Linked DNA regions of Homo sapiens: all the other regions are linked to region 7. The links are contacts of gene promoters, found by promoter capture Hi-C in blood cells and fetal thymus (Javierre and others, 2016). All regions are on one chromosome and are shown on one strand. The core of a region is centred on a gene start or on the middle of the fragment in contact, and the rest is flanking DNA. Distances in the headings are between cores, read along the strand shown.

Region 1 (2,700 bases), core at 150-2,649, 1.7 Mb before region 7:
ATTCCTATCCATATGGTAGCCTCTGTGAGTCCTTCATAAACTCACCACCCTCCCAAGTATTTCTGAGGATCTTCAAAGGCAGTTTCCCAAGGGCCCCCAAGTCCGACTGTCAGCTGGACCCATCACAAGTGGCATTCACCATGGTCTTTCTTTCCAGCTCCAATCCAGGGCCCACAAAGCTGTTGGAGGAATTTCACTACTGCCACCAGAGGCCATCCATTATGACAACACCAGTGTTCTTGTGTGGGCTTGCATCAGACTAGGCATGAAGAACTTCTGGTGCATAAACTCATTTTATTTTCACAACAACTGTGAGTGGGCACTCACCCCCCATTTTACAGATGAGAAAGCCAAGACCCAGGGAAATGAGGGTCACGCAGATCAGGTTAAAAGGCTGGTCAGTGGGAGGGCTGGGGTTTGCCTTTGGTCAGCCCCATCCAGAACATGTATTCTTACCTGCTGTGCATGGGCCATACACTGAGCCTCTGGACTCCAGCTCAGCTCACCACCTTGCCTTTGTCCCTCTGCCCATGTGCCTGTCTCTGTCAAGTAGGCAGTGGGGCCTTCAAGGGCAGAAATTTGTTCTTACTCATTCTCTACCTAGCTCAGTGCTAACCCTACAATAACTGGTTTGTTTTTTTTTTTTTTTTTTTTTTTAATAAACATGTTACCTTTCTGGTGAGATTTCATTTGGTGGGATTATTTTCCTTTTCTCATTTTAGGTCTAAGCTTCTTCTCAATAGCTGGTCAGCCTCATTTACAGCCAAGGCTTTAGAAGGACCAAAGTGATTTGAGAGATGTATGGGTCAGGAAAGGGTAGAACCATCCTCCACTGTAGTGGGAGCGTTAACTGCTGGCCATTCCCAGATCCCTTTTAAATGCCTGGTTTCTATTCATTTGGCCTCCAGACCAATATGGAAATATAATAATGCTCTGGGCAGCACTGAGGAGACCATGCGGCCATGTGCTGGCCTCATGCATAGGGGAGCATTTCTGCAGCCAGCCTGTTATCCAAATCTTCCACTTTGGCCATGAATGTGCATCTTCTCATCATGTGCAAATTGCACTGGGCTCTAGGAATAACTGTAAATTGGCCTCACTCTGGCTAAAGTCACATATGAGACCTGAAGAGCAGAAGGATAATGGATCCTTTGCCATTGTCCTAAGGGCCCCTGCCAACACTCTCAGTTTTTCTGGATTCTCTAACTGTTCTGATTGTGATGATCTCACTCCACACCCAGTATCTCACCATCTGTCAGTGACACAGATGCTATGCAGGACTTGAGTGTGGGTTAACTTGAACAAGAGGACTGGGGATGGGGAACCTAGTTAGGAAAAGTGGATAACTTTCCCAGAGCCATGAAAGTGTCTTGGAAAGTATAAATATAAACATGATTTATGATAAGTAAACATGTTTCTCCATTCACCCATTCACTGGTTTTATTATTAAACCGACCATTCTCAGGAACTCCTGGATGGGGAGATGAGCTGATGTATCTGCCAGGGTCCAGTTAGGAAAACAGAAATCTTTCTACATATTGGAAGCAGGAAATTTAATATGGACAATTGGTTACACCAGGAGAGCTGTGAGGATACCCAGGGATTAGCAAGAGCTGGGAGCCACTAAGCTACAGGGACAAATTGGAGGTGGTGTATTAGGGTCTAGGAGCTAGAATCACTCAGAGGAAGCGTGAGAATCAGTAAGGGAAAGTAATGGCCACCTCTACCTTCTGAGGCTTCTAGAGAAGAGAAGAAGTACCCTGGCTTCTTCCTTCCTCCCATCTTTCAGTAGTCTCCTGTGAGTGCCTTCCATTGGCCAAGCCCAGACAGAAGCCAACTGATGCAGAAGCCTGAGACCTGCAGCCTGTAGGGGTCAGAGGTCCTGCCATATGGGGGAGAACAGGGCAGGGCTGAAGAATGCATCTGTGGGCAACCTCTCTCATGGCAGGCATAAGGGATACACATAATACAAGAGAAAACAGTAAATACCATAATTGACTTTTCTTAAGCCACTAGAGCAAAATAGAAGGAGCAATGATGTCCTTTTTTTGTGGAAGGAAAGGGTTCAGAAAGCTTTTTGGAGGAGATAGCATGAGCTGGGTCTTGATGAGGCATGAGAGTTTGACATGAAAGCAGGGAGAGGCTGTTTCAGAAGAGGCAACAGTGTGATCGGGGCACAGCTTCTGGAATGGGTCTGGCATTCTCAGGGAGCAGAGAGAACTCTGGCTCTGGCAGAAGTGCAGGGTGTGTCAGGAAAGCCATCCCAGGAGGGAAAGACTACACATCCCAGAATGTGTAGCCACAATGCGCGCTTTGAATTGTGTGCTGAGGACTTCAGATTTAGCCTGTAGGCTGGGAGAATTCTGCTGCAGGGTGGCTGAAAGAGGGTGGTCCAGATCATCTTGGATGTAGGGGAAGAGTGTGACACCCTGCCGCCTTCCTGTGTCTCCTTCTCCTCCCTGCTCTTCCTCCTCCTCTTCTATTAAGCAAATGGAAAACTCATGCACCCTCCTGAGTGTTTGCTCTTCAACATTTATTCTAATGCCGGGATCCAAAATATTTTTGTAACTCTCCATGGACAGTTGCCTTCAGATCCTAAGATATGTTATTTAAGAAGACAAATCTTTGCTTTGGATTTGCAAACATAGATTCAGTTGTGGTTTTCTTTTCTTCTTTTTCATTTTTTTGAAACATTACAGG
Region 2 (2,700 bases), core at 8-2,507, 1.7 Mb before region 7:
GGAGTTGGTCTCTAACCTGGTTTCTTGGCTTCTGATCCCAACTCCCCGATCCCTGCCCCTCACTGCATCCTCCAAGAGGATCCCAGAGTGCAAAGTACAAATCTGATCAGGAGGCTCCACAGCCTCAATTCATTCAGTTGTACCTCCATGTCCTTAGGGATGAAATACATATCTGAGTCTTAGCAAAAACCAACAACAAAAAACCAAAACCACAAAACCCAAAGTTGATGGATGTGGCTTTGCCTGTCCTGCCAATCCTTCTCAAGGTATACTTAGTTCTAGCCCTCCAGATAGCTGGTTGAGCCCCAAGATGGCCATGCTCTTTGGTGCCTTACTGGATTTGCTTATTCTATTCTCAATGTCTGGGATGTTTGCTCTTTCTTCCTCTCTCTGTTTAAAGCAACTTCTGCATCAACCAAGCTCCTATCCCCTTCCTTCTGCTTCCTTCAAAGCATAAGTCTCACATCAGCAGCTGTTTGTGGCTGCTCCCAGTTTGGCCATCTGCAGCTCTCCATGGCACACTCACCCCTAGGCATGGCATGGTGATGGGCAGGGGATGTGTTCTCTTTATCTCTGAGTGTTCAATGTCCACCACAGTGTCTAACCCTAAGCCTTGATGGAATGAATGCAATAACTGATTGCCATGTGCATTATATCACTGACTATAACATAATAGTGAAAAACTTGTCAGCACTCCCACAGCTCAGGTTCTGACTGATCAATCCATTGGGTCACTATTGCTCTGAGACTTAAAGGCTACAATTTCTTTAAGGGTCTCATTTAAAATGTAAATACTCATGGGCTGACAATATAAAGATGCCTCAAATACATAGAAAAATGGCACACACACACACAGTGGTCTACGTCAGTTTCTCAGTGCCATTACTTGTGCCGTTACTGATTGTGCCATTACTGATTCTTCAGATGGCATCTTGGGCACCGCTAAGAGTAAGCCCAACCCAAATAGCCATAGGTTGGTATTTCTGGAATAGAGAATCCTGACAGAAAGGATGGTGTATTCATCCATTTTGTGCAGTTGATAAATATACCCAAGACTGGGAAGAAAAAGAGGTTTAATTGGACTTATAGTTCCACATGGCTGGGGAGACTTCAGAATCATGGCAGGAGGCAAAAGGCACTTCTTACACGGCAGTGGCAAGAGAAAATGAGGAAGATGCAAAAGCAGAAACCCCTGATAAAACCATCAGATCTTGTGAGACTTATTCACTACCATAAGAACAGTATGGGGGGAACCGCCCTCATGATTCAAATTATCTCCTACCGGGTCCTTCCCACAACACGTGGGAATTATGGGAGTACAATTCAAGATCCGATCTGAGTAGGGACATGGAGCCAAACCATATCATTCCACCTCTGGCCCCTTGAAATCTCATGTTCTCACATTTCAAAATCAGTCATGCCTTCCCAACAGCCCCCAAAGTCTTAACTCATTTCAGCATTAACCCAAAAGTCCACAGTCCAAAGTCTCATCTGAGACAAGTCAAGTCCCTTCTGCCTATGAGTCTGTAAAATCAAAATCTAATTACTTCCTAGATACAATGGGGGTACAGGTATTGAGTAAATACAGCCATTCCAAATGGGAGAAATTGGCCAAAACAAAGTGGTTACAGGGCCCATGCAAGTCCAAAATCCAGCAGGTCAGTCAAATTTTAAAGCTCCAAAATTATCTCCTTTGACTGCACGTCTCACATCCAGGTCACACTGATGCAAGAGGTGGGTTCCCATGGTCTTGGGCAGCTCTGCCTATGTGACTTTGCAGGGTACAGCCTCCCTCCCAGCTGCTTTCACAGGCTGGCATTGAGTGTCTGTGGCTTTTCCAGGCAAGTGGTGCAAGCTGTCAGTGGATCAACCATTCTAGGGTCTGGAGGATGGTGGTCCTCTTCTCACAGCTTCACGAGGTGGTGCCCCAGTAGGGACTCTGACCCCACATTTCCCTTCTGCACTACCCTAGCGGAGGTTCTCCATGAGCACCCTGCCTCTGCAGCAAACTTCTGCCTGTCATCCAGGTGTTTCCATACATCTTCTGAAATCTAGATGGAGGCCCCCAAATCCCAATTCTTGACTACTGTGCCCTCTCAGTCTCAATACCATGTGGAAGCTGCCAAGGTTTGGGGCTTACACCCTCTGAAGTCATGGCGTGAGCTGTGCATTGGCCCCTTTCAACCATGGCTGGAGAGGCTGGGATGCAGGGCACCAAGTGTACACCACATGTACACAGCATGGTGACCCTGCGCCCAGACCACAAAACCATTTTCTCCTAGGCCTTCAGGACTGTGTTGGGAGGGGCTGCCATGAAGACCTCCGACATGCCCTGGAGACATTTTCCCCATTGTCTTAGGGATTAACATTCAGGTCCTCGTTACTTATGCAAATTTCTGCAGCCATCTTGAATTTCTCCCTAGAAAATGGGTTTTTCTTTTTTATCACATCATCGGGCTGCAAATTTTCTGAACTTTTATGCTCTGCTTCCCTTACAAAGCTGAATGCCTTTAACTGCACCCAAGTCACATCTTCAATGCTTTGCTGCTTAGACATTTCTTCCACCAGATACCCTAAATCATCTTTCTCAAGTTCAAAGTTCCACACATTCCTAGGGCAGGGGCCAACGCTGCAGGTCTCTTTGCTAAAACATGACAAGAGTCACCTTTGCTCCAGTTTTCAACAAGTTCCTCATCTCCA
Region 3 (2,870 bases), core at 182-2,681, 1.3 Mb after region 7:
ACTATTGTGAATACAACAGCTACAAACATTCATATATGAATCTTTGGATAGATGCATATTTAATTTCTCTTGGGTGAATTTCTGGGTGGAATTGCTAAGTTGTATAAGTATGTGCTTAACCTTATAAGAAACTGCCAAACTGATTTTCTATTTTTAAGTCAGTTTTGTTGTGTCTTGTAGGACATTTGTTTCATACAGGATGTATGATTTGTTGATACACAGTCCTTAACTGAATTACTGTGCTAATAATGTGCTAATAACTGATCTTTAATGATGTTTCCTTTTCTTTTCCTGCTATTGGTTATTTGTGTCTTTTGAATTTATTTTCCTTGATAAGTCTGGCTAGATGTTTTTCAATTTTACTTATTTATTTTTTAAAGAATTAGTGTATGTTTTCTATTCCATTGATTTTTCTGATTTTTATTATTTCCTTTCTCTCACTTAACCTGTTCTTCTTTTTCTTGCTTCTTAAGGTGGAAGCTTAAATAATCAACTCTAAACCCTTTTTTCCCCTAATATTAACCACCATCTTAGCCACATCCCACATATTTTGACAGACTGTTACTTTATTTTCATTCAGTTCAAAATATTTGGTAATTTCCCTTATAAAGTTTTCTCCTTTGACCTATGAGTAAATTAGAAGTAGGTAATTCAAATTCAAAATATTTGAGGATTTTCCAGTTGCCTTTCTTTTATTTATTGGTTTCTAATAGATCTGAGACAATACTCTGTATTGAGAAGTTATTTTACATTTATTGAGTCTTATTTTATGACCGAACCTATGGTCTGTCTTGGTGAATGTTCCATGTGCATATGAAAACAGCATGCATTCTACAGTTGTTATATAAATATAGATTTTGTTAAATTTGTTGATAGTGGTATTTTCCATATCTTTATTGATATTTTTTCTTATTATACTATGTGTATAGTGTAGTATAGACTCTGTAGAGAGCCCTTAAATCTCTAATGATGATTTCGATTTTGTTGATTTCTCCTTTGCATTTTTTTGCTTTTTACTTCATGTATTTTGAATTTCTGTTATTAAGTTTATTACACACTATATTTCTTGTGTGTTCTTGAATGAATTCACTTATTATGAAATGCTTTTCTTTATCCCTGGTAATATTCTTTTATTTGAAATCAAATTAGCTCTAATATTAATGTAGCCACTACAGATTTTTTATGATTATATTTTTCATTAGTATTTCTTTTTCCATTCTTTTAATCTGCCTATGTCTTTTTATTGAAAGTGTTTCATGTAGACACCTAATAGTTGGGTCTTACATTTTTATCCAGTTTGACAATCTGTATTTGATTCTTTATTGTAAAAAACCTTCTATTTCTTACATTCATGTTTTTGTTCAAATCCTTGAACATCTTTAAACTAGAAGTTTTAACATTGTCTCAATTCTTTTATCTTTCATTTCTGAACCCATGTGTATTGACTGAGTTTTCTCCTAATTTTGGTTCCCACTTTCCTGCTTCTTCACATCTGTAGTAATTTTTTAATTGGATGCTAAACATTATGAATTTTATTATTGAATGCTGATTTTTTTTTTTAAGTTTTTTTTTTTTTTTCCTGAGACAGAATTTCGCTCTTACGCCCAGCCTGGAGTGAAGTGGTGCAATCTCAGCTCACTGCAACCTCTGCCCCCGAGGTTCAAGCGATTCTTCTGCCTCAGCCTCCCGAGTAGCTGGGATTACAGGTGCCCACCACCATGCCTGGCTAATTTTTGTATTTTGAGTAGAGGCGGGGTTTCGCCATGTTGGCCAGGCTGGTCTTGAACTCCTGACCTCAGGTGATCCAACTGCCTCAGCCTCCCAATTAAGTATATTCTTTTGAGGAGTGTTGAATTTTCTTCTTGCAAGCAGTTAAGGTACTTGGAATCAGTTTGATCCTTTAAAGGCCTATTTTTGGCTATTGTGGGGGGCAGAACTAAAGTTATTCTTTCCTTTAGGACTAAAGTAGACTCATTACTAAGCTGTGACCTTTTTGGGGGTCTTTAGTGAATGTTTTGTGCGTGTAGCATGGTGTCTTCATTCTGGCTAGTGAGAATTTCAAAAATTTTTTGGCCTGTATAATCTTTGGGAATGGTTCAGTTTATAGTTCCCTGGATTGTTATTTCTTTGGAAAGAACATTCAGTTTCACCCATCCACATGCAAACTGGTATTTAGCCAAAGAGTCAAAGGAACCATTTTACACAAATCTCCAGAGCTTGCTCATTCCATAGCTCCCATCTTTTCATCGTCTGCCTTGCAAATTCAAACTGCCCAGGCCTTCCTGAACTTCTAATGTCTTATCTCTTCAATCGGTGAGAACATCAGGCTTGGTGTTTGGTTTCCACCTCCCTATGCTGTAGTCTGAAAATTGCCTCAAGACAGAAAGCTTGTACTAGTGTAGGGCCCATTTTCTGTTTGTTTTCATTCTTTCAGAAAGCAGAGTTCTGTACTACTTACTTGTCTAAAGCTTGCAAACAATTGTTTAATGTATTTTGTCTTATTTTCTAGTTATTAGTGACAGGAGAGAAAATCAAAACCCAGTTAACTTGCTCATGACTGCAGCTGGACATGCCTGTGTATAAATTTTTACAGTGGGCCCTTGAGTTCATTGTGACCCACTTTAAATAGAATCACCCTACTTAACTAAACACTGATTAAATCTCTGATGGTTAAAAAGCATCATGTGTTTGTATTTATAGAACTCTATTATAATGTTTTTGTTGTTCTTTTTAATTAGGGGAAAGTTTTTATTGTCTTTCATGCTGACATAACTTTTCTTTCATTATTAATCTGAAATAAGAATCTCTTATTTTTTTCACATTAGGCCAGTAATGTAAAGAAGGTCCTTCAAGGAATTATGAGTTATTAT
Region 4 (2,700 bases), core at 54-2,553, 1.3 Mb after region 7:
TAACAAAGGAAACAATCAAGAGAATAAAGAGGCAAGGGATTAATAACCAGAATACAGAAGGAACTCAAACAATTCAACAGCAAAAAAAAAAAAATCTGATTTAAAAATGGGCAAATGATCAAAATAGACATTTATTTTTTAAAAAGACATACAAATGGCAATGTATATGCAAAAGTGCTCAACATCACAAACCATTAAGAAAATTTAAATCAAAACCACAATGAGATATCATCTCATCTAGTTAGACTAGCTCTTATTAAAAGCACACACAAAAAAATGCCGGCAAAGATGCAGAGAAAAGGGAACTCTTATATTCTGTTAGTGGGAATGTAAATTAGTATAGCCATTATGTAAAACAGTATGGAATTTCTTCAAAAAAAATGAAAATAGAACTACCATATGATCTAGCAATTCCACTATTGGTTATGTATCCAAAGGAAAGGAAAACCATATGCTGAATTGTGATCTGCATCCCTGTGTTTATTGTGGCACTATTCACAATAGGCAAGATATTGAATCAACCTACATGCCCATCAGTAGATGAATGGATAAAAAAAATGTCATATATATATATGTGATATATATATATATCACAATGAAATATTATTCAACCATAAAAAAGAATAAAATTCTGTCATTTGCAGCAACATGGATCATCCTAGGAGATATTATGTTAAGTGAAATAAGTCAGACACAGAATGATAAATACCACATGTTCTCACTCATAATGCGGAAACTAGAAATGCTGAGCTCATAGAAGCAGAGAGTAGAATTGTGGTTACCAGAAAAGGGTAGGTAAAGGAGGGAGTTAGAGAAGTTAGTTAAAGGATACAAACTTACAGCTAGATAGGAGGAATAAGTTCTAGTGTTTTATACACCTGTGGGATGACTACAGTCAACAGTAATATATTATAACATTTCAGATAGCTAAAAGGAGGATGCTGAATGTTCCCAACACAAAGAAATGATGGATGTTTGAGATGATGGATATGCTAATTACCCTGATTGATCAATACACATTGTATGCATGTATTGAAATGTCACTCTGTACCCACTAAGTATGTATAATTATGACGATTTCAATTAATTTTTTTGTTTTTAATTTTAATGAAGTTTATGTTATCTATTTTTTCTTTTGTTGCTTGTGCTCTTGATACCTTAGCTAAGAAACTATTGCTTAATCTAAGGTCAAGAAGAGTTACACCTATGTTTCCTTTCAAGAGTTGTATAGTTTTAGCTTTTACATTTGAATTTTTAAATCTGTTTTGAATTAATTTATGTATGTGTTATGAGGTAAAGATCCAAATCCATTCTTTGCCGTGTAGACATTCGTTTGTCCAAGCATCATTTTTTGAAAAGACAATTCTTTCCCCCATTGAATGGTCTTGACATCTTTATTAGAAATAAATTATCCATAGATATATTGATTTCTTTCTGGACTCTCAATTATACTCCAGTGACCTATATATCTACCTTTATTCCAATAGTACACTGTTTTGATTTTTGTAACTTTGTAGTAAGTTTTGAAGTATGGGTTTAAGTTCTTTTTGCTTTCTTTTTCAGGATTTTGGATGTCCTGCATCTCTTGCAATTCCATATGAATTTTAGAATCAGCTTCTCTATTTGTTCAAAAAAGAAGTTGAAATTTTGATAGAGCTTGCACTGAATCTGTAGATCAATTTGGGGAGTATTGTCATCTTAATATTATATCTTCCAATCCATGAACATGAAATCTCTTTCTACTTATTAAGGTTCTCCTTAATCTCTTTCAGCAAAATTTTATAGTGTTCAGTGCACAAGTGTTACAATTCCCTGGTTAAATATATTCTTAAATATTTTACCGTTTTGATGTTACTTTATTTTTATTTTTCTGTTTGTTTTTGTTTCATTTGTTTGTTTTTGAGACAGAGTCTCACTCTGTCACCCAGGCTGGAGTGCAGTGGCATGATCACAGCTCACTGCAACCTCTGCCTCCCAGGTTCAAGTGATTCTCCTGCCTCGGCCTCCTGAGTAGCTGGGACTACAGGCATGCACCATCACACTCAGCCAATTTTGTATTTTTAGTAGAGACAGGGTTTTGCCATGTTGACCAGGCTGGTTTTGAACTCCTGACCTCAAGTGACCCGCCTGCCTCAGCCTCCCAAAGTGCTGAGATTACAGGTGTGAGCCACCACACTGGGCCTGATGTTATTTTAAATGAAATTGTTTTATGGTTTCTTTTTCAGATTGTTCATTACTCGTATATATAAATACAATGGGGTTTTATATACAATACAGATATCCATTGTAGAAATACATGGAGTTTTGATATTATATTCTGCAACTTGGCTAAATTCCTCTATTAGCTTGCTATAGTCTGGATGTGTGGCCCCTCCAAATCTCATGTTGAAGTATGAACTCTATTGTTGAAGGTTGGCCTAGAGAGAGGTGTTTGGGTCATGGGAACAGATCCCTCAAGAATGGCTTGGTGCTCTCCTCACAGTAATGAGTTCTCACTCTGTTAGTTCATATAAAAGCTGGTTGTTTAGAAGAGCCTGGGGCCTCTTGGTGGCTTCTCTCTTGTTCCCTCTCTCACAGTGTCACATGCCTGCTCCCCCTTCCTTCTGCCGTGAGTATAAGCTTCCTGAGGCTTCACCAGAAGCCAAGCAGATCCTGGTGTCATGATTGTACAATCTGCAGAACTGCGAGCCAAAGAAAACT
Region 5 (2,700 bases), core at 130-2,629, 1.3 Mb after region 7:
TTAATGATTTATAGCATAATCTTATATGGTACCTATAAAATTTGACTGCTTTTTTTTAAAGGCACAGTCTTGCAGTTTACATAATTTTTTCTTAAACACTTTCAGAAGCTTTTGTTGGAGTTTAAGAGTTTCATACCCTACCAGCTATGCTAGCTGGTCCTGCTTGCATCTTAAAATGGTAGCTATTGAGTGGACAGGAATTTCCTTTTTTTAACTAAAGAATATAATGACTCATATTTTTAAAAATTAAAAAAGATTTTGCTTTGTAACATCAGGGAGGTGTTTATTCGACTGCAACATGAAAATAAGATGCTTCGCTTACAGCAAGAAGGCTCTGAGAATGAACGTATTGAGGAACTTCAGGAGCAGCTAGAACAGAAACACCGTAAAATGAATGAACTGGAAACTGAGCAGAGGTGATATGCTCCTTAGTAACTGAAAATCTTGGTGATTTTATTACCGAGCCATAAAATCTTGATTCACAGAAATGGAAAATATTATTGTAGCTAAAGTAATTAGAATTACCTAGAAATAGTTTAATATTTTTGTTAGTAGTCTTTCATCACTATAAGCTTCTCTCTGTGAAAGAAGTCAGGTGATTCATTTCAGTTATATTTATAAAATATATGGATAATCCATTAATTTCAGCATTCTTGGTTAACCAGGCTACTTATTCTTTTTATTCTTTTTGAGACAGGGTCTCCCTCTGTCGCCCAGGCTGGAGTACAGTGGCGTGATCTTTGCTCATTGTAGCTTCCACCTTCCCAGTTCAAGTGATTCTCATGCCTCGGCCTCCTGAATAGCTGCAATTAGAGACATGCACCACCATGCTTGGATAGTTTTTGTATTTGTTTTCTTCTCTTTCTTTTTTTTTTTTTTGAGACGGAGTCTTGCTCTGTCACCCAGGCTAGAGTGCAGTAGCGCGATCTCGGCTCACTGCAACTTCCGCCTCACGGGTTCAAGCGATTCTCCTGCCTCACCCTCCCAAGTAGATGGGACTATAGGCACACGCCACTACGCCTGGCTAATTTTTTTTTGTATTTTTAGTAGAGATGGGGTTTCACCATGTTGACCAGGCTCGTCTCAATCTCCTGACCTCATGATCCACCCACCCTGGCCTCCCAAAGTGCTGGGATTACAGGCGTGAGCCACCATGCCTGGCCAATTTTTGTATTATTAGTAGAGATGGGGCTTCACCATGTTGGCTGGGCTGGTCTCGAACTCCTGACCTCATGTAATCCACCTGCCTCAGCCTTCCAAAGTTGCTGGGATTACAAACATGAGCCACTGTGTCTGGCCCACCAGGCTACTTATTCTTGAATTTCATTTAGATATGTTCACAATTCAGAAAGTTTGACAAATGAATAAATGACAGTTTGGCTTTCTACTGAAGTCTAGTGCATAGATAAGATCTAGATTGTGGAATCAAATTTAAATCCCACTTCTAATTTAACTTATTAACTGTTTCTGGACAAGTTACTTAAACTTACACTCAGTGTCTTCAGGTGTAAATACAAGTTGTTAGGAAGACTGCAGATAATGAGCTTAAAGCAAATGATGTGCTTATGTGGTATCAATGAAGTGCTCAAAACTTATTATATGCTTTTCTAAGTACTTTTTTGCTATTAACTCAGTAAATCCTCATAATAACTCTATGAAATAGTAACCATGTAGTAACCAATAGCTCTTTTTCTATGGATAAGGAATATGGATACAGAGAAGTTAAATAACATACCTAAAGTTATACACCTAGTAGTTCTGGATCCTCCATAATGAACTCTCTGTCAATCTGATTACTGAGTCTTTACTCCTAACTACTATGGTAACTTCCCTGTTATAAATGGTGTACTTACTATAAGGGTATTTGGATTTATTTAACCTTTATTGAATCCTAGACACCAACAGAAATTTTAGACATACTTGAATCTTACCTTTCTCAAACTTGTGTGTATAAGGTTACATAAACGGTGGTTAAAAGAAGAATAACAATTTAGTTTTCTAAAGAGACCATTAAATATTACTATTTTATTCAGTTCAATACCAGTTGTTAGCACTTTTCTGAAGAGACCATTAAATATTATCATCTTACTCAGTTCAATACCAGTTGTTAACACTTTTCTGAAGAGACCATTACATATTACTATCTTATTCAGTTCAATACAAGTTGTTAGCACTGGGGAAATCATTTAAGCTTTTAAGGAATTAACATAGGAAAGCAGACATGTAAATAGATAATTGCTATATTATGTGATAACTGCAACAGTGGAATATTATAGCAGGCAGGTGAGTGTGTATGTGTGGATACACATAGAGGGAGAGGGAGATACTAACTCTTGCTAGTAACTTCCAGTGGAAGTAACTCTTAAGCACAGTTTTAAAGAATGAGATTTTGCCACATTAGAATCTGAGTTAGTTGCTAGTGGCACTCCCTTTAATTTAAATTTAAAAAAACTTGTGGAAATGATTGGAAAATGGTGACCTTCCTCTTCCAATACGCTGTGAAATCTGAAACAGAAGATGGAAATCTAGTTTTCATTCATTAAAAATACAACTGTAGAAAAATTGAGCTGGTTTTCTGATTTTTCTACCAGTGAGTGCGGTGTAGAAATTTTTTGCCACCGACATTTAAGTTCCTTAAAATTTTAAATGTAGGCATATATACTTTCAGGAAAAAAGTTTTCTTTTAAAAAGTATTTTCTT
Region 6 (2,700 bases), core at 82-2,581, 1.4 Mb after region 7:
ATAACTGTAAGCAAATTTAACCTAAGTGTGTGAAAAGTATTCTGAGGTACTCTGTATATTTTTAACGTCCTGAAAGTCTGAAGGCTAATCTATACAGGTATGTTTTAGGATATTCCATAGGAAAAAAATCATTACTTTTACTATCAACCTTTGAGATTTCATGAAGATTTTATTGAGGAGTAATAATACATGCTATAAGCATTGACAAAACTCTGAAAGTTTTTTTCTATAAGATATAAAATAATATCTAAATTGAGTCAGCCATAGGAGATTCAATTTAGAGTGTTTTGTGTTTTATATTCATCTAATAATGTTCAAATTGCAACTATAACATTTCAATATTTGTCAACATGCTTTTATAAAAGTAAGTTCTAAGTTTCTAAGCTTCAAAAAAGTGAAGAAGTAGTAAAAAGCAAAAATTGAGGGAGTTTTTTACTAGTAGACATGCTTTACAAGAACTAGTAAAAGAAGTTCTTTAGAAAGAAGGAAAAATATTTAGGCCAGAAACTGAGATATACATACAGAAAGGAAGAATACCAGAGAAGAGATAAATGAAAGTAAGATAAATATTTTATTTTCTTATTCTATTTTTTTTTTTTTTGAGACAGAGTTTTGCTCTGTTGCCCAGGCTGGAGTGCAGTGGTGCAATCATGGCTCACTGCAGCCTCTGCCTTCCAGGTTCAAGCAATTCTTGTGCCTCAGCCCCCTGAGTAGCTGGGATTACAAGCACATGGCATTATGCTTGGCTAATTTCTGTATTTTTAGTAGAGACAGGGTTTCACCATGTTGGCCCAGCTGGTCTCGAAGTCCTGACCTCTAGTGATCTGCCCTCTTCACCCTCCCAAAGGATTTTTCTTATTCTTAATTGATTTAGCAGATAAGTTTGCTCCAAGTAAAAATAACAGCAATGTATTCAGTGATTATAGCTTATTGATAAGTGAAATGAATGATGCAATGTTACAAAGAATGCATGGAACAAATCAGAAAAATTCTATTATAAGGTACTTGCACTACCCATAAAGCAGTATAGTATTATTTGAAATGATTTCAATCAGTTGGAAATGTGTAGTGCCAACTCTAAGGCAACCTTAAACAAGTTTAATAAAAGAAATACAATTGATATGCTAAGAAAGGAAAGAAAGCAGAATCATATAAAATGCTCAATTAAAATGACACAAGGCTAAAAATGAGTGCAAGACAGAAAAGAAACAAAAACAAGAGCAATGAGTAGAAAACAGATAAGAATAGGGTAGATATTAACCCAACTACATCAATAATCATTTTAAGTGTCAATAATCTAAATACACCAATTAAAAGATATAGTCTATCAGAGTGGATTAAAAAATATCCCTTTCAGATTGTTTGTTGTTAGTGTATAGAAACACAGCTGATTTTTGCATGTTGATTTTGTATCCTAAAACTTTGCTGAATTTGCTTATTAGTTCTAACAGTTTTTTGGGGGGTGGTGTGTGGAATCTTTAGAGTTTTCTACATGTAAGATTATGTCATCTGTGAACAGAGATAATTTACTTCAGCATTAAAAAGAATAGACTTAACTAAGGAGACAAAAGATTTGTGCATTGAAAACTGCAAGACATCGCTAAAAAAAATTAAAAGACACAAATAAATGGAAAGACATCCCATGTTCATAGATTGAAAGACTTAATATTGTTAAAATGTCCATATTACCGAAATTAATTTGCAGATTTAATGTCATCCATATCAAAATCCTCTTGACTTTTCCTTTTTTGCAGAAGAAATTAAAAAATATTCTAAAATTTATATGGACCTACAAAAGACCCTGAAAAAGTGAAACAATTTTGAGAAACAAAAACAAAGCTGCAGGCACAAAACTTTCCTAATTCCAAAACATTACAAACTACAGTAACCAAATAAATCTGATACTGGCATAAAGACAGACCTAGAGACCAATGAAACAGAATAGACAGCCCAGAAACAAATCCATGCATATATGAGCAAATGGTCTTCAACAAGGATATCAATACTACATAACGGGGAAAGGACAGTCTCTTCAACAATGGTGTGGCAAAACTGTATAACCACATGTAAAAGAATGAAATTGAACCCTTATTATATAACACAGACAAAAATAAACTCAAAATGGATTAAAAACCTAAACATATGACGTGAAACCCTAAAGCTCCTAGAAGAAAACACAGGGGAAAGACTTCATAACAGTGGTCTTAGCAATGATTTGGATATAACATCAAAAGCAGAGGCAACAAAAGCAAAAACATACAAGTGAGAATATCAAACTAAAGCTTCTTCACAACAAAGGAAACAATCAATGCAGTGAAAATACATGCAAATCGTGTATCTGATAGGGGGTTGATATAAAAATATGTAAGAAATTCCTACAAATTGATAGCAAAAAATCCCCAAATAACCTGATTTTAAATGGGCAAATGACTTGAATAGATATTTTACTAAGGAAACATACAAGTGGGTGAACAGGTATATGAAATGATGCTCAATGTCACTAATCATCAAGGAAATGCAAATCACACTCATGATGAGGTATCACCTCATACATGTTAAGATAACTATTATCAAAATGTCAAAAGATAATATGGGTTGGCTAGGATATGGAGAAAATAGAATCCTTGTGCACTGTTGGTGGGAATGCAAACTGGTACAACCATTATGAAATATGGAGTTTCTTTTAAAAATTAAAAATAG
Region 7 (2,799 bases), core at 166-2,665:
AGCAAAAGCCCCAACACTACGCATATATAATTAAAACCATTATCATTTCTATCACTGACAACCAAGTGTCGTTTTGAATAGAAACAGTGCCTGATATTTTGTAATACCCGGTTTATCCTGAAGAAAGGGTAAAGAATGAGGGAAGAAATCTATTCATGCATTTTCAAGGAGCCAATCACTAGACTACAGAGCACATAAGAAAAAAAAAAATCAGGGCTGACATATTCTCTTCAAAGAGCTGTGGCAGGTCAACAAACATAGCTGGCAGACTTCTAGGATAACAAAATTAATGATGTGAGAAAATTAAACAATTTGGATTGTTAGCCTCTACGAACATTTCAGATCCTTAATTCTTTAAGTACCATCTCCGAATGAGCAAGTGCAGCACTCACTGGCACTCACAGCTGAAGCCTGGAAGACAGTTTTAACAACTCTTGCTGAAAATGACTATTTCTTCTCTAGTTTCTATGGAAACAGCTGTCAGATTGGCAAAAATAGGACATGTACTTTAAAATAATCATTCAAGCAAAGTACACACATGATGGAAGGCTTTAAAAAAGAATTGGACGGCAGCAGACTTGGTTCTTAAGCTTCCAAATGTCAGACTACACCCCTTCACCCCGGCTGAGAATGACGGAGATGAACCTAAATCCTTTTAGCGAGGGTTGCACGACCTTGATCAACGCCTGAATGCCAAATAAGGGATTTTCATCTCCCTGGACTACAATTTCTTGTTGAGGATTGCACGGCACAATAAAACTGTTGCTCCACACACAGGCGACATTTAAACAGTATACAGTGAGTTCTGTAGACGAGTTTACGAGGAAATTGTTAAAACTCCCCGGAACTGCTTAGACGGGGAATGTTCTGGTTTGCCCTGCCGAGTTTAGGCTGGAAAACGTGTTCAGTTTCTCCTGAAGAGGGAAGGGGTGAAAGAGACGAATGCCCGACGCGCCGGGAGGCGGTCCCCTCTGGCAGAGGTGCCGGGTGAGGAGCCCGAAGCCCCGCGGGTGAGAAACCCTGCTCTGAAAGCGGAGCCGCGGATAAGGGCGGGCTGAGGGGGAGGGCAGGCGGCCCACGAAAGTACTGCCACGGGGCAGACACACGGGGTCACCGGCGTGCCCCGGGCAAGGCTAGGGGAGAACCGGGCTCCCCCAGGACAGATCCCCTCCGTCTCCCGCCCCGGCGCCCCCCGCCCCTCCCCTCCACGCAGCCTTATCGCCCACCCACGCCTCCTCCCGTACCCCCATCCCCAAGGATCCCCACTCCTTGCCCGGGCGCCCCCGCAGGCGCTCTGCGCTCCGCCCCCTCCCCACTGCCGCACTCTGCCTCCTCCCCTGGGCACGATCCTACTCGGAAAAGCTGGGGAAAAGCGTCACCGTGAGGACTGACTCAAGCAGAAGCGAAAGCGGTGACACCGCAGACCCGACCTATGCGCAGGCGCGCACCCGCACTTCCTGCCCGCCATACCGGCCGGGGCGCCCTTCGCTCCGCCCACACCCGGCAGTCAATACAGCCGCCCAGAGTCGTTCTCCCAGCTGCCCCGGGCCCCGCGGAGACTGTGGCGCTCTAGCGCCTCCGTGTGGCTTAAGGCGGGACATGGCCCTGGGCTGGGCTGCTTGCCTAGGAACAACTTTCTCCCGTCTTTGGTGAGTTGGGTCCTCTAAAGAATGATCCACGCAAGGCTGTGTCCGTTGTAGTCTCTACGGCAGTACCGGCCAAAAGGGAAGAGACTCGAAGACTGCCAAAAGACGAAGGCTTCCTGGTTCTGAATCTGCATTCATAGAAATAGTCTTTGGAGTATGGGAACAGTGCTTTCATATGATTTTTGGAGGGACGCATTTTAAGAAAGATGAAGTATAATCTTAAGTGTCTGGAGGTTAAAGTAGCTGGCTCCAAAATTATGTGTATAGTATGTTTCATTCATTTCACCAAAACATATTTCTTGAGCATCAACTACATTTTAAGTGCCAAGGATGTAGCAGTGAACAAGACAGACCTGAATTTCGTGAACTTTATATCACAGTGAGGAAAGACAGGCGATTAAAAAAAAGTGTACAAATAAACACAAATAAATAAAAGTGTACAAATAAGCCAGTACAAATAAACACTGGATTGTGATGGATGAGTAGTGAGGTCTCATATTAGTTTATTATGTTTACACTCTGTGCACAATGAAAACATCTCAAAGGACATAAACACTATGTCAAAGGACATAAACACTATGAACAATTTTAGGTATCTCTTTTGGAAAATGTGTAAGTTACTGTTTCGTTTATCTTATGTGTATTTTATGATTTGCCTTTTACTTTGAAAGGGATATCCTGGAAAACCCCTGACAACTGGACCCCTAAAAACTGAAGTAGGAGGTCCTTCAGTCTTCGTAGGGTTTATCTCCCAAACTCTGGAGTGCACATGTCTTACCAAAGTTTCCAGCATGCTAGCCACCTCTTGCTCATCTTGCCTGGTTAGCATAATGTCATTGGTGAAATAGATGGGTGTGATGTTCTCTGGAATTTCCAGTTGATCCAGCTCCTTTTGGACTGCGCAGAGCCATTATGTCATTATCCTGGGTCCACCTGATTTCCAAAGGGGCCAGACTGGCAAGTTAAGTAGAGATATGGCAGGGATGACCAACCACTCTTGTATATTTCAGGTCTTTAATTATGACATTAATCTCCACCATCATCTCACTATCCCCTCAGATGAAATATCGGTTTTGATTTATTATCTTCACTTGGAAAGAAGGACAGCTTCAGAGGCTTCCCATTGGCTTTCCCCACCATGATAACTCAAGAC

Evidence for each region. Contacts are between HindIII fragments. The CHiCAGO score rates a contact against its expected background, and 5 or more counts as called.
Region 1: a contact is called between a fragment that was not itself captured here and the fragment with the promoter of OMA1 in region 7, in 11 of 17 cell types (naive CD4 T cells, total CD4 T cells, naive CD8 T cells and 8 more). The highest score is 30.3, in naive CD4 T cells.
Region 2: a contact is called between a fragment that was not itself captured here and the fragment with the promoter of OMA1 in region 7, in 4 of 17 cell types (naive CD8 T cells, total CD4 T cells, total B cells and 1 more). The highest score is 7.5, in naive CD8 T cells.
Region 3: a contact is called between a fragment that was not itself captured here and the fragment with the promoter of OMA1 in region 7, in 6 of 17 cell types (total CD4 T cells, non-activated CD4 T cells, total B cells and 3 more). The highest score is 7.2, in total CD4 T cells.
Region 4: a contact is called between a fragment that was not itself captured here and the fragment with the promoter of OMA1 in region 7, in 10 of 17 cell types (naive B cells, activated CD4 T cells, total CD4 T cells and 7 more). The highest score is 10.6, in naive B cells.
Region 5: a fragment that was not itself captured here is called in contact with the fragment with the promoter of OMA1 in region 7 in 2 of 17 cell types (naive CD4 T cells and activated CD4 T cells); the score reaches 6.7 in naive CD4 T cells.
Region 6: a fragment that was not itself captured here is called in contact with the fragment with the promoter of OMA1 in region 7 in 1 of 17 cell types (total B cells); the score reaches 6.2 in total B cells.

Annotation. Positions count from the first base shown.
Region 1 is chr1:56,826,723-56,829,422 of GRCh38, forward strand. It overlaps a transcript of FYB2 not described here. Among named protein-coding and RNA genes, the nearest start is that of FYB2, 8.7 kb to the left of the region's middle. The HindIII fragment of the contact is 1,344 bases long and covers 728-2,071 here.
Region 2 is chr1:56,845,552-56,848,251 of GRCh38, forward strand. No RefSeq gene overlaps it. Among named protein-coding and RNA genes, the nearest start is that of C8A, 7.9 kb to the right of the region's middle. The HindIII fragment of the contact is 6,184 bases long and covers 1-2,700 here.
Region 3 is chr1:59,829,338-59,832,207 of GRCh38, forward strand. HOOK1 (hook microtubule tethering protein 1) reads left to right here. Exons shown (of 22, transcript NM_015888.6): 4 at 2,826-2,870. Among named protein-coding and RNA genes, the nearest start is that of HOOK1, 16 kb to the left of the region's middle. The HindIII fragment of the contact is 1,907 bases long and covers 479-2,385 here.
Region 4 is chr1:59,795,671-59,798,370 of GRCh38, forward strand. All of the region lies in intron 3 of LOC105378758 (a long non-coding RNA gene), which reads right to left. Among named protein-coding and RNA genes, the nearest start is that of HOOK1, 18 kb to the right of the region's middle. The HindIII fragment of the contact is 2,627 bases long and covers 1-2,617 here.
Region 5 is chr1:59,859,913-59,862,612 of GRCh38, forward strand. It overlaps HOOK1 (hook microtubule tethering protein 1), which reads left to right. Exons shown (of 22, transcript NM_015888.6): 15 at 276-416. Among named protein-coding and RNA genes, the nearest start is that of HOOK1, 46 kb to the left of the region's middle. The HindIII fragment of the contact is 1,619 bases long and covers 571-2,189 here.
Region 6 is chr1:59,932,118-59,934,817 of GRCh38, forward strand. It overlaps a transcript of CYP2J2 not described here. Among named protein-coding and RNA genes, the nearest start is that of CYP2J2, 6.7 kb to the left of the region's middle. The HindIII fragment of the contact is 1,898 bases long and covers 383-2,280 here.
Region 7 is chr1:58,545,311-58,548,109 of GRCh38, forward strand. It overlaps OMA1 (OMA1 zinc metallopeptidase), which reads right to left and starts at 1,416. Exons shown (of 9, transcript NM_145243.5): 1 at 1,393-1,416. It also overlaps a transcript of DAB1 not described here. RefSeq lists enhancers at 825-1,451, 1,665-1,854 and silencers at 1,065-1,154, 1,165-1,264. The HindIII fragment of the contact is 5,811 bases long and covers 589-2,799 here.